Regions from separate parts of the Homo sapiens genome. Here region 2 is linked to region 1. Evidence: promoter capture Hi-C in 16 types of primary human blood cells and fetal thymus (Javierre and others, 2016). All regions are on one chromosome and are shown on one strand. The core of a region is centred on a gene start or on the middle of the fragment in contact, and the rest is flanking DNA. Distances in the headings are between cores, read along the strand shown. Region 1 holds the start of DENND6A (DENN domain containing 6A). Region 2 overlaps APPL1 (adaptor protein, phosphotyrosine interacting with PH domain and leucine zipper 1).

Region 1 (5,420 bases), core at 1,103-3,602:
TGCAGCCTTGACCTTCTCCTTAACCCAATATTATAAAGCAACACTTCACAGAATCGCAGTTTGTGTCTATGTGTCGAAGAACCAGCCCTGTGGAACAACTTATGTTCTTTTTTGGTGCTGGTTTTTGACACAGGGTCTTGCTGTGTTGCCCAGGCTGGAGTAGAGTAGCACAGTGATGGCTCATTGCAGCCTTGACCTTCTGGGTTCCAGTGATTCTCCTATCTCAGCCTCTCAAGTAGCTGGAATTATAGGTGTGTGCCACCATGCCCAGCTAATTTTTAATTTTTTTTTAAGAGACGGGGCCTCCCTATGTTGCCCAGGCTGGTCTCAAACTCCTGGACTCACGTGATTCTACCGCCTCAGCCTCCCAACGTGCTGGGATTACAGGTGTGACCCACTGTGCTTGGCCACAACTGGTGTTTTGAGATCATTAATAATTAATAATGAAGTAGCATCTGGTAAAATGTGTACATTAGGATAGCTTAGCTTTTCCCAACAGTCAGTGAGGTGAGTTAGTAATCATCACTCTCATTTACCAGAAACTGGGTTTTGGAGCAGCTTGCCTACCACGATCGTGGTAGATTCTAGCTGGCACTAGAATCCAGAACTTTTGACTTCCACGCCAGTGTTCTTTCTAATACAAAAGGCTACTGTTCTTTCCTAATACTGGGTTTAGAGCCTTACTTGATCGCAGAATACAGTTTTTCCTCTTTTAACCACAGCAGTTCTCTGGAGTAGGATGGCAGGCTACTTTGGCCAAAGACTTGGCCTCTAACTTAAGTGCTGTCCCTAAGTTCATTTTTGTCTAAAGGAAGTCTCCAGCAAACGTCACTACTGATGTCTGTGCATACTTGACCACCTCCTTGAAAACAGGGACGCTAACACTTGCTCCAAAAAAAAATTCTAAGAATGTTAAGAGGGCAGTATTTGTCAAATGGAATGGATTTCACTGGGCAGTGCAGCAAAATGCTTAAGTTCTGCCGTGTTTTTTGTTTTGCGTTGTTTTTTAGAGACACAGTCGCGCTCTGTTGCCCAGGCTGGAGTGCAATGGCTGTTCGCAGGCGCGATCATAGCGCGCTGCAGCCTGGAACTCCTGCTCAAGCGATCCTCCTTGAACTTAGCCGGCCTCAGCTTCCCAAGAACCTGGGACTACAGGCGTGACACCTCGCTGGTTTACTCATTTTTCTGTTGAGGTATTATTGTGTGTTTCCTACTTTTACTATGCTATTTATACTCAACATAGTAGGTGCTGAATAAATACTAGTTAGTATCCTGGCTGGTCCAATACTCAGTAAAAACTGATCTCAGAATACGAAGCTGCTTGAGACCAGGCCCTTGCCCCAGTGTTCAGAGATCCACAGGTTGCTGTGGAGGCCAATCTGCCCAACCTGGAGTTCCAGAAAGGTCTGGGGATGTGTGTTGAGTGAGTCACAGACAGCCAAACTAAGAAAGGAGGAGGTGGTAGGGTGGGGAGGCCTTGCTGGAGAAGGAACAGGTGAGTGAATGCACAGATCTCTGAATCAGCAAACTGAATGAGTGAACCGCAAGCCGATATCGGAGTTGTCATACTTGTTGGGCTAGTCATGTAACCTCCAGGACCTCCATTTCCTTATCTGTAAAAAGAAATAAATAGTCTACTTATTTGCGATTATGTGAAGATTCAATAAGGTAATATTTGTAAGTATTCGCACTTGTACTTGGCATATCAACTGGCACAAAGTAAGCGTTCAATGTTAGCCACCGTCACCATTATGCGTTCATATATTTTATTTTTATTTTTTTGAGACGGAATCTCGCTCTGTCGCCCAGGGTAGACAGAATACAGTGGCGCAATCTCAGCTAACTGTAACCTCCTGGGTTCAAGCGATTCTCCTGCCTCAGCCTCCTGAGTAGCTGGGATCACAGGCGCGCTCCACCACGCCTGGCTAATTTTTTCGTATTTTTAGTAGAGACGGGGTTTCACCATGTTGGTCAGGCTGGTCTCGAACTCCTGACCTGATGATCCGCCCGCATCGGCCTCCCAAAATGCTGTGATTACAGGTGTGAACCACCGCGCCCGGCCTACGCTTTCATAATTTAATAATACCTTATAATAATTATGAACTGTGTCATTCCACGAATAATTTATTCCCTGGTCGTTGACTGCGAACGAGGTTGACAAGGATTCATAAACAGCCATTTCAGTCCCAAAGAGCTTTTAGACAAGGAAGCCAGGACCGGCTTCACAATCCGAGACAAGCGGCAGCGTGACGTCCCCACGTCCGCTCCCAGGGTCACGTGACCCGCAGCCCCGCCCGGACTGAGTGGGTCCCCAGCGGCTGCGACAGCAGCGTCTGCGCCTGCGCGGAGGCAAGCGCGCTCTGCGGCGCGGTCCGCTGTGGAGGCGGCGCGAACGGTCAGGGGGCGGCCGATGGCTTTGAGGGGCCCTGCGGGCTTGGGGCCCGGCTCTCGAAGGCCGTTGGACGAAGCGGTGGCAGGGGCCGAGGGCCGCGAGGCGCCGGCCCTTGTGGCGGCGGGAGGCGCGCCAGAGGACGATGAAGAGGACGATGGCCGTGGCCGGGGCCTGCTGCGCTGGGACAGCTTCTCCGCCTGGCTGCACTGCGTGTGTGTGGTGGGCTTCGACCTGGAGCTGGGCCAGGCCGTGGAGGTGAGGCCCGGCCCCGCCCTTTCTCGGCGCTCCTCCCCTGCGCCGGGGCGGCTGCAGCAAAGCCAGCGGCCCGCGGGCTGACCGGCCAGGACCCTGTCCGCGGCGCATCCGGGCGTGGCCAGTCTCCCCTCCCGCGCTCTTTCGGGCTGCGGTCCTACGGCACTTCCCGTGGGAGGATCTTGGGCTGCGGCTAGGGGTGAAAAGTTCTCTCTAGGCCCCTCCTAAATACTTGTTGATGTTCATCCTGTTCTTTCTTTATTTCTTTTAAACGCAGAGTCACAGAATTAACTAAAAGGGTTAGTAGCACCCACCCGGAGAAGCCCGCAGGCAGGATGTTTGTTTGGTACTTTTTCAAGAACAATGCCCATAACAGATGATGAACTCTAGTAGCCGAACTTGCACAACCAAGTTTTAAGGCTCAGATTGTTTTAGTCATTTGCAGTAACTGTTTGAGCGTTTCCCTCAGCCTGAGTCGAAATGCTTATCTCAGCACGCATTTTCTCCCTTTCCTCCTTTTGTGCCTCATTTCTGTTTTTTTTTTTTTTTTTTTTTGAGACGGAGTTTTTGCTCTTGTTGCTCAGGCTGGAGTGCAATGGCGCGATCTTGGCTCACCGCAACCTCTGCCTCCCGGATTCAGGCAATTCTCCTGCCTCAGCCTCCCGAGTAGCTGGGGTTACAGGCATGCGACCATGCCCGGCTAATTTTGTATTTTTAATAGAGACGGGGTTTCTCCATTTTGGTAAGGCTGGTCTCGAACTCCCGACTCAGGTGGTCTGCCCGCCTAGGCCTTCCAAAGTGGTGGGATTACATGCGTGAGCCACCGTGCCCGGCCTCATTTCTGTTATTTTTTTTTATGTTGCCTCTGGAACAGTTGGTGTGAAACTACTGTCAAGATGAATATAGGGAACATCATTTGCTTGTCAATCAGTCAACTTTTCCATTCTTATGTATGGCCCCTTACCGAAAGGCTTTAGAAACATCTATTCTTGACGTTGTTGAAGGTCTTTTTAGCATAAGGAATTGCTTGCTTTCATGTGTCCAAGGAAATTGTTATCAGAAGGGCGTTTGTTTAGACGTTTTGGTTTTGGTTTTTTTTTTTTTTTTTTTTTTTTGGTATTGGTGACAGATTTCGATTTCATTAATACTGTAGTGGCCTGGTTGACTAAGAAAATTGGCTAGGGGTAGTTTTCTTAATGCGAAGCTACTGCTTTCGTATTCGGCCTGCCTTCTGGATGTTTTATTATAACACAGTTCAGCGACATTAAGTTTCCACTAAGAACCAGGCATTATGTTAGTTGTGGAGCATACAAATAGGATGTGCTCTAATCTGTATTTGTAGATTGAGGCAATAATTTAGAGGAGAACCAAGAATTAATCATAGTAGCTGATAAGGCCAAATGCAGTGCCTGGCACCTAGTGGCATTCTATAAATACTTTTGATAGAATAGGTGAATATGTGAGCAATTCTTTATCTTATTAAAGTAAGAAAAACAGTTCCCAAAGATTTTGAGTAAGAGATTTATAAGCCATTTATTATTCACCTTGCCATGTTAACCTGAAGTTATATGTACAGCAAGATACAATTTAACCAGAAAGCATAAGAATGGGTTGTTGTAGTTGATTGTGTTTTTAAATAGCTAAAGGAGATTCTTTTGGATTCTCATTATTTGGGACATTCTTTATAACGTGAATATGTTTTTTGACCAAATAAACAGAAAATATATTTGAGATGCTGCAAAAATGTGAATTATTAAAGGACTTATTTTGAATTTCATTTTCCATAGTGTATGCCACTGTATAGAGTTTTTTCTAGGTCAGGAGTTCTTAACCTTTTGCTTCCTGGATCTTTTAAAAATATGAACATTGTGAATTTTCCACTAGGAAAAGGCTGAGTAAGATGAAATCATGTATGTGGTTCCATATATGTGGTTTCCAGCTATTTAAGACATAAACCTAGTAGGGCTTCAGAAAATGGCTAGAGTTCAGAACCAGGGAAACCTCTTGGTTTTGCTCTTTTTTTGTGTGCAGATCTTGTTTATATTTCATGTTCCCTGCAAACTGCCTTCTTCCCCTTCTCTGATTTTTTTTTTTTTTTTTAAAGACAGAGTCTAACTTTGTCAGCCAGGCTGGAGTGCAGTGGTGTAATTTCGGCTCACTGCAACCTCCACCTCCCAGGTTCAAGTGATTCTCCTGCCTCAGCCTGCCAAGTAGCTGGGACTACAGGTGCATGTCACCATGCCCAGCTAATTTTTGTTTTTTGAGAGAGAGAGTCTTGCTCTGTTGCCCAGGCTGGAGTGCAGTGGGGCAATCTCGTCTCCCTGCAAGCTCCGCCTCCCTGCAAGCTCCGCCTCCCAGGTTCACGCCATTCTCCTGCCTCAGCCTCCCAAGTTGCTGGGACTACAGGCACCCGCACCACGCCCGGCTAATTTTTTGTATTTTTAATAGAGACGGGGTTTCACCGTGTTAGCCAGGATGGTCTCGATCTCCTGACAGTGTGATCTGCCCACCTCAGCCTCCCAAAGTGCTGGGATTACAGGCATGAGCCACCGCGCCTGGCCTGCCCAGCTAATTTTGTTTTTTTTGTTTTTTTGTTTTTTTTAGTAGAGACAGGGTTTCACCATGTTGGCCAGGCTGGTCTTGAACTCCTGACCTCAAGTGATACACCTGCCTCAGCCTCCCAAAGTGCTGGGATTACAGGCGTGAGCCACCGCACCTGACTTTTTTTTTTTTTTTTCCTTAGAGACATGGTCTGCCTCAGATTGGAGTGCAGTGG
Region 2 (5,420 bases), core at 1,686-4,185, 450 kb after region 1:
ACAACCCCCCCCCATTCACATTTTACATGAAGAAAAATGGAGCGGAGAGGGGTTACAGACATTACTGTACTGTCTGAGACCACACAGTAAGTAATGGATCCAGAGTTTGATCCTTCTGACCCCAGGTTTAGGACTCTTTCCATTAACTTGTTCTGTCTTCCCTGATACTATGCAGGATTTTCAGTTCCAGTTCCCTAACATGAAATCACAGGTCTTTACTATATGACATTGCTTTGACAACTTCAAAATATCAAGAAACCATTTAACCAAGCCAGAGACAAAAATTCAATATATTTCTACAAGATTAAAAAGCAATTTATCTTAATACATAATGAACCTAAAATGTCCATAAAATTTCTAAACAAAAAGGAATTATCTCACATTTCAGAAGTTTAATATACTATAGATTAGTAGTAGTAGAAAAAAAATACTAACTTTTTTCCATCGAAAGAGGTGATCTGAAAACAATATCGTCTGTCTTCACAGTCCACAGCCATCACTGAACAGTTGTCTATGTCCATGGCCAGGCCTCCTGCTACATCCCCACGGGCCTGACTCATTAAATTTCCACCCTGCGTGAAGTAAAACTGTCTGTCCCAGGTAGATGACACCAAGCCTGTTTTACTGAATGAAGAAAGCACATTCACTCTTTAATAACAACATACCTGAAATCTCATCATCAGCTAGACACAAGATAAAGCATGTTACAATGAACTGGCTTGCGAAGAGGCACCAAGATGCCAAGAAAATAAATATAAATATGCTTTCAGTCTCTAAAATAAATTCATGTATGTTGACTCACTTTTGTGAATGTGTATACAGTTTCCAAAACAAGGCTGGAAATTATCAAACTGTGGCTGTTATAATAATGATCCATAAAATATAGGTTATAGTTCAATTTCCAAGGGAGTAAATTCAAAACAACAGAATTTATTTTATTTCTAGGGTTAACCTGCTTCATCCTATCATCAGGTGAAAACTAACATTTGACTTGGTGCTATAATTACAAATATATTAAAGTAGGATAAATGATATTTCATAGCATTCTCATGTTATGATACAATATGTGAATATTTATTTAAACTCAAATTAGTTTCACTTCATTTTTTTTTTTGAGACAGAGTCTCACTCTGTCCCTCAGGCTGGAGTGCAGTGGTGGGATCTCGGCTCACCACAACCTCTGCCTCCCATGTTCAAGTGATTCTCGTGTCTCAGCCTCCTGAGTAGCTGGGATTACAGGTGTAAGCCACCATGCTCAGCTAATTTTTGTATTTTTAGTAGAGGTGGGGTTTCACCATGTTGGCCAGGCTGGTCTCGAACTCCTGACCTCAGGTGATCCGCCCGCCTCAGCCTCCCAAAGTGCTGGGATCACAGGCGTGAGCCACCATGCCCAGCCCTGGTTTCACTTCTTTTATCATTCTACATTATTCAATAAATATCTAGGTAGGATTTTACTTCTGAAAAGTATTCATGTACTTCATCTGTCAAAAAGTTCACATAAATACTAACACCTCTAAAAAGTTTCAACCTTTAATAAAAATCAAAATATGACAGACATCAATTATTTACTATATTCATTTGGTATTGTCTTACATGATACACAATATACAAAAATAACAATAGTTTTCTTACTTCCTAGCATTAAGGTATCCAGCCTTTCGGGTTAAATTTCGATTAACAGGAAATTTGGTGGGGTCTGGGTCAGGCACATATAAGGGATCACTGGCTACTTCCAAATCCTCTATTGTCTGTTGCATGGTCTCTATATCACTGTCCATTTCCCTGCGAACACTGACACAGAACAGATTATTTGCTACAAATCACAACCAATAAAGAACTCCTTACCAATCATGTTTACCTGCATATTTGTTTCGGGTATGTTTTCTTAAAGAGAGGAAGAGCGGCATGGGTGGTTAAAACAACACGAATATATTTTAAAACAGGTTTACAGTTTATTTGAAACTTAGATATTTTGGAAACAATACTAAATTCAAAAAACAAATGAAGCCCCCCGAATGCCTGATTTTGGCGTAATTTTCAAACTGTTCTGCCCTGTGCCTTTAAAACAACAATCACTTTCATCTCTCTCCATACCGTGGACTGACCACATACACTGCTCGGCATTTTGAACCTGATAAGAACTGCTTTCTCTCTAAGCTTTCATGGCTTGGAAACAATATTTAGTAATCTCCCATCAAACTCCCACAATTTCAAGTTTAAAGATAATTTCACTTATGGGGAGTTACTATTATGTGTCTGTTATATTCAGACATAAAACTGAGTGTAGAATCAATAAAATTATCACTATTATGAAATTCAAAGTTCACAATCTGTGGAAAAAAGAGGTTAAAAAAAAACAAGAAGTAACCATGAACCACATAAGAAACTCTCATGGCAGGGAAAATATTCCCTCAGGAAAGTAAATGATAAATATCTTTACATTATGTCATTGAGCTGTTATCATTCACATCATTTCATTTTCAATTTTAAGGAAAAAAATACTTACTTCTGAACGCTTGTTCCAATATTAGCTAAAAATTCTTCCAGTTGTTCATTAAGATTTTCAGAACCCATCTTAAAGAAACTTATCTGGAGAGTGGGGAGTGGGGGGAATTGAACAATACAAAAATAGATTAAGCAATACTTAAAGTAAATCATATAAACAATCTCTAAGACACATGGTTAAGTAAAAAACAAAGGAATATTCCCATTTGTGTAAAAATACATTGTAGTTTGTGACTTCTACTGCACAGGGAGCCATTAAGGAAGTTAGACTTAAATTCCACTGCATATCCTTTTATATTTTTTGAATTGGAACAAGTAATATATACATATGGTTAACAATCTTTTAAAATTGGAAAATAAATTTTAAAGTATTTCCAATAAATTATATAAAGTATTTCATGTTTACTACAAAGATAAGTTTTCTATCTGAGGAATAATCAGTAAAGTACTCTTTTACCTAAATAGATTCAATTTTTTTTTTTTTTTTTGAGACAGGGTCTCGTCTGTCATCCAGACTGCACAATAAAACCTCACTGCAGCCTCAGCCTCCTAGGCTCAAGGGATCCTTCCATTTCAGCCTCCCAAGTTGCTGGGATCACCGAGGCATGCTACCAAGCCCAGCTAATTTTTTCATTTTTTGTAGAGATGGGGTCTCCCTACGTTGCTGAGGCTAGTCTCAAACTCCTGGACTCAAATGATCCTCCTACCTCGGCCTACCAAAGTGCTCGATTATAGGCATAAGGCACCGTGCCTGCCCTCAATTTTCTTTAAACTCTTGATTTTTAGGAGACTGACACTTTGTCTTATACTACCCAAATTTTCTAGCCCCCTTCCTGATGTACTCTTTGGGCACGTTGGAGTTCATCTATTATTTTTAACTCAGGAAGTATGCAAGGAATATGGGATAAACTCAAACTTGTTTATTCTTTTTCAGATCTATTATGAAGCAAGTGTTTAGTTGAAGCTCTAGCAATAGGTGTAACTCTGAAATTCATTTAGTTCTCTCAGTCCCCAGCTATGGTGAACAAGTGGTTTCATTTACCTAAAATATTTGAAATCTTCATTTGCAAGGAAAACCATTCTTCCTAACTTCCTTAAAATAATAGTCTGATGACATTTTAAAAATAACTTCTTAAAACACAGACATAAACAAGGATGTTGAAAATAGTTTATAATACCCTTATACTTAATGTAAATATCAAGCTTAATATAAAACTTTTAGGACAGTTATAATCCAAATACAGTACAGTATTTACCTGAGCTTGCATGTACCCAAGTAGAGGTTCTAACAATGCTATTTTCTTCTTGTACTGAAGAGTATTTAATGCACAAAAATAATGCATCATGGTCTGGTGTTGTTTCTTTCTGGATGTGTACACATCTTCTGTTACTTCATACTTCACCTTTGAATGAAAAGATTTAAATAATTAAGTAAATAATCTGCTATTATTTACTTAATTTTGTATTATCTTCAGTAGGAGCTGTGGAGAAGAGCCTACCCAAGGAATTGAGTATCACAAGCAATTGAGCATTAATGTTCCTGTTTTCTGATCTTTTAGAAATCCTTCAACATACTGGTTAAGCAAATTTTCCTGTTTAACTTCCAACCACATAATTTACAAAATGCACATTGAGCCCAGGCGTGGTGGCTCATGCCTGTAATCCCAGCACTTTGGGAGGCCGAGGCGGGACGATCACTTGAGGTCAGGAGTTTAAGAACAGCCTGGCCAACATGGTGAAACCGACTCTATTAAAAATGGAAAAAAAAATTAGCCAGGTGCAGTGGTACACACCTATAATTCCAGCTACTGGGGAGGCCGAGGCATGAGAATAGCTTCACCCTGGGAGGGGGAGGTTGCAGTGAGCCAAGATCACACCACTGTACTCCAGCCTGGGTGACAGAGAGAGACTGTCTCAAAAAAAAAAAAAACTGCATATTGAAAACAGAATTCTGTACGTAACTAAGAATGGTACAATAACTAAACTAAGCATGGCAGAGAAAGCTTACGACAAGGAGGAATGGCAGACAATTGTTTGTTATTAGCTTAGTCATTAGTCTTTGACTTTGATCAGTTCACAGCATACCATTCTCCCCTCCTGGTTCTCTCCCTATCAGTCTTCCTCTCTTGCACTTGCTTGTCTTCCTTCACCCATACTTGAAATACGTGTGCTCCCTAGAGTTCTTTTATTCAGACAACAAATATTTATTGAATACCTATTATGTAATAGGCATTAGGTTCTTCTGCCTTCCTGCTTTCCTTAGAATCCTCAAGTACGAAGAATATTCTAATATTCCAATACACCAATGACTCAATGACTCACAAATTTTATCTCCTCCCTCTCACCTTCCCAAGTGACAGAGTAAACACATCTCCAGCTGGGTTCTTTATGTGTGTTTATGTGCTAAAAATGTACAAAACTGAAGATAGTTTTGTACACAAAACCTGTTCTTCTGCTTTGTTTCTTACCTTTCTTAATTACTACAGGATCCATCCAGACATCCAAGAAATCTAGGACTCATTTTTTATTCCTCCTATTACCACAAGTCTTGTCAATTCTACTTAAAAAAATATCTCCCAAAAGTACTCCTTCCTCTCCATTTTCAGTAACAACCTTAGCTGAGGCCTTCATTGTATCTCTGCAAACTATTCCAATTCCTTTCACTGGATATCCTCTAGTCTTGTCCTCTTCACATTTTCATTAGTATGTTTGTTCTATAACACAATTGCATGATGTTATTCACCTACTTAGAATCCTTTGGCGGCTGTCCACTCCCTCTAACACAAATTTCAAGGTCATTAATATAGTAATCTGGTACTAATATACTTCTTACTCTTTCTGCCATATCTCCTAACATTTCCTTTATTGTCACAGAGTACTCTTAATCTTTACACTCTCCCAACTCCACCATGTGC

Evidence for each region. The method cuts DNA at HindIII sites, captures the fragments that hold promoters and counts their contacts. A CHiCAGO score of 5 or more calls a contact.
Region 2: a contact is called between a fragment that was not itself captured here and the fragment with the promoter of DENND6A in region 1, in 2 of 17 cell types (naive B cells and erythroblasts). The highest score is 5.8, in naive B cells.

The regions. Positions count from the first base shown.
Region 1 is chr3:57,690,009-57,695,428 of GRCh38, reverse strand. It overlaps DENND6A (DENN domain containing 6A), which reads left to right and starts at 2,352. Exons shown (of 20, transcript NM_152678.3): 1 at 2,352-2,647. The coding sequence starts at 2,411. DENND6A-DT (DENND6A divergent transcript) reads right to left here and starts at 2,224. Exons shown (of 2, transcript NR_135550.1): 1 at 2,087-2,224; 2 at 1-1,613. RefSeq lists silencers at 2,353-2,452, 2,563-2,802 and an enhancer at 2,524-3,024. The HindIII fragment of the contact is 17,962 bases long and covers 1-5,420 here.
Region 2 is chr3:57,244,564-57,249,983 of GRCh38, reverse strand. APPL1 (adaptor protein, phosphotyrosine interacting with PH domain and leucine zipper 1) reads right to left here. Exons shown (of 22, transcript NM_012096.3): 8 at 3,762-3,908; 9 at 2,507-2,589; 10 at 1,633-1,791; 11 at 436-624. Among named protein-coding and RNA genes, the nearest start is that of APPL1, 20 kb to the right of the region's middle. The HindIII fragment of the contact is 1,551 bases long and covers 2,160-3,710 here.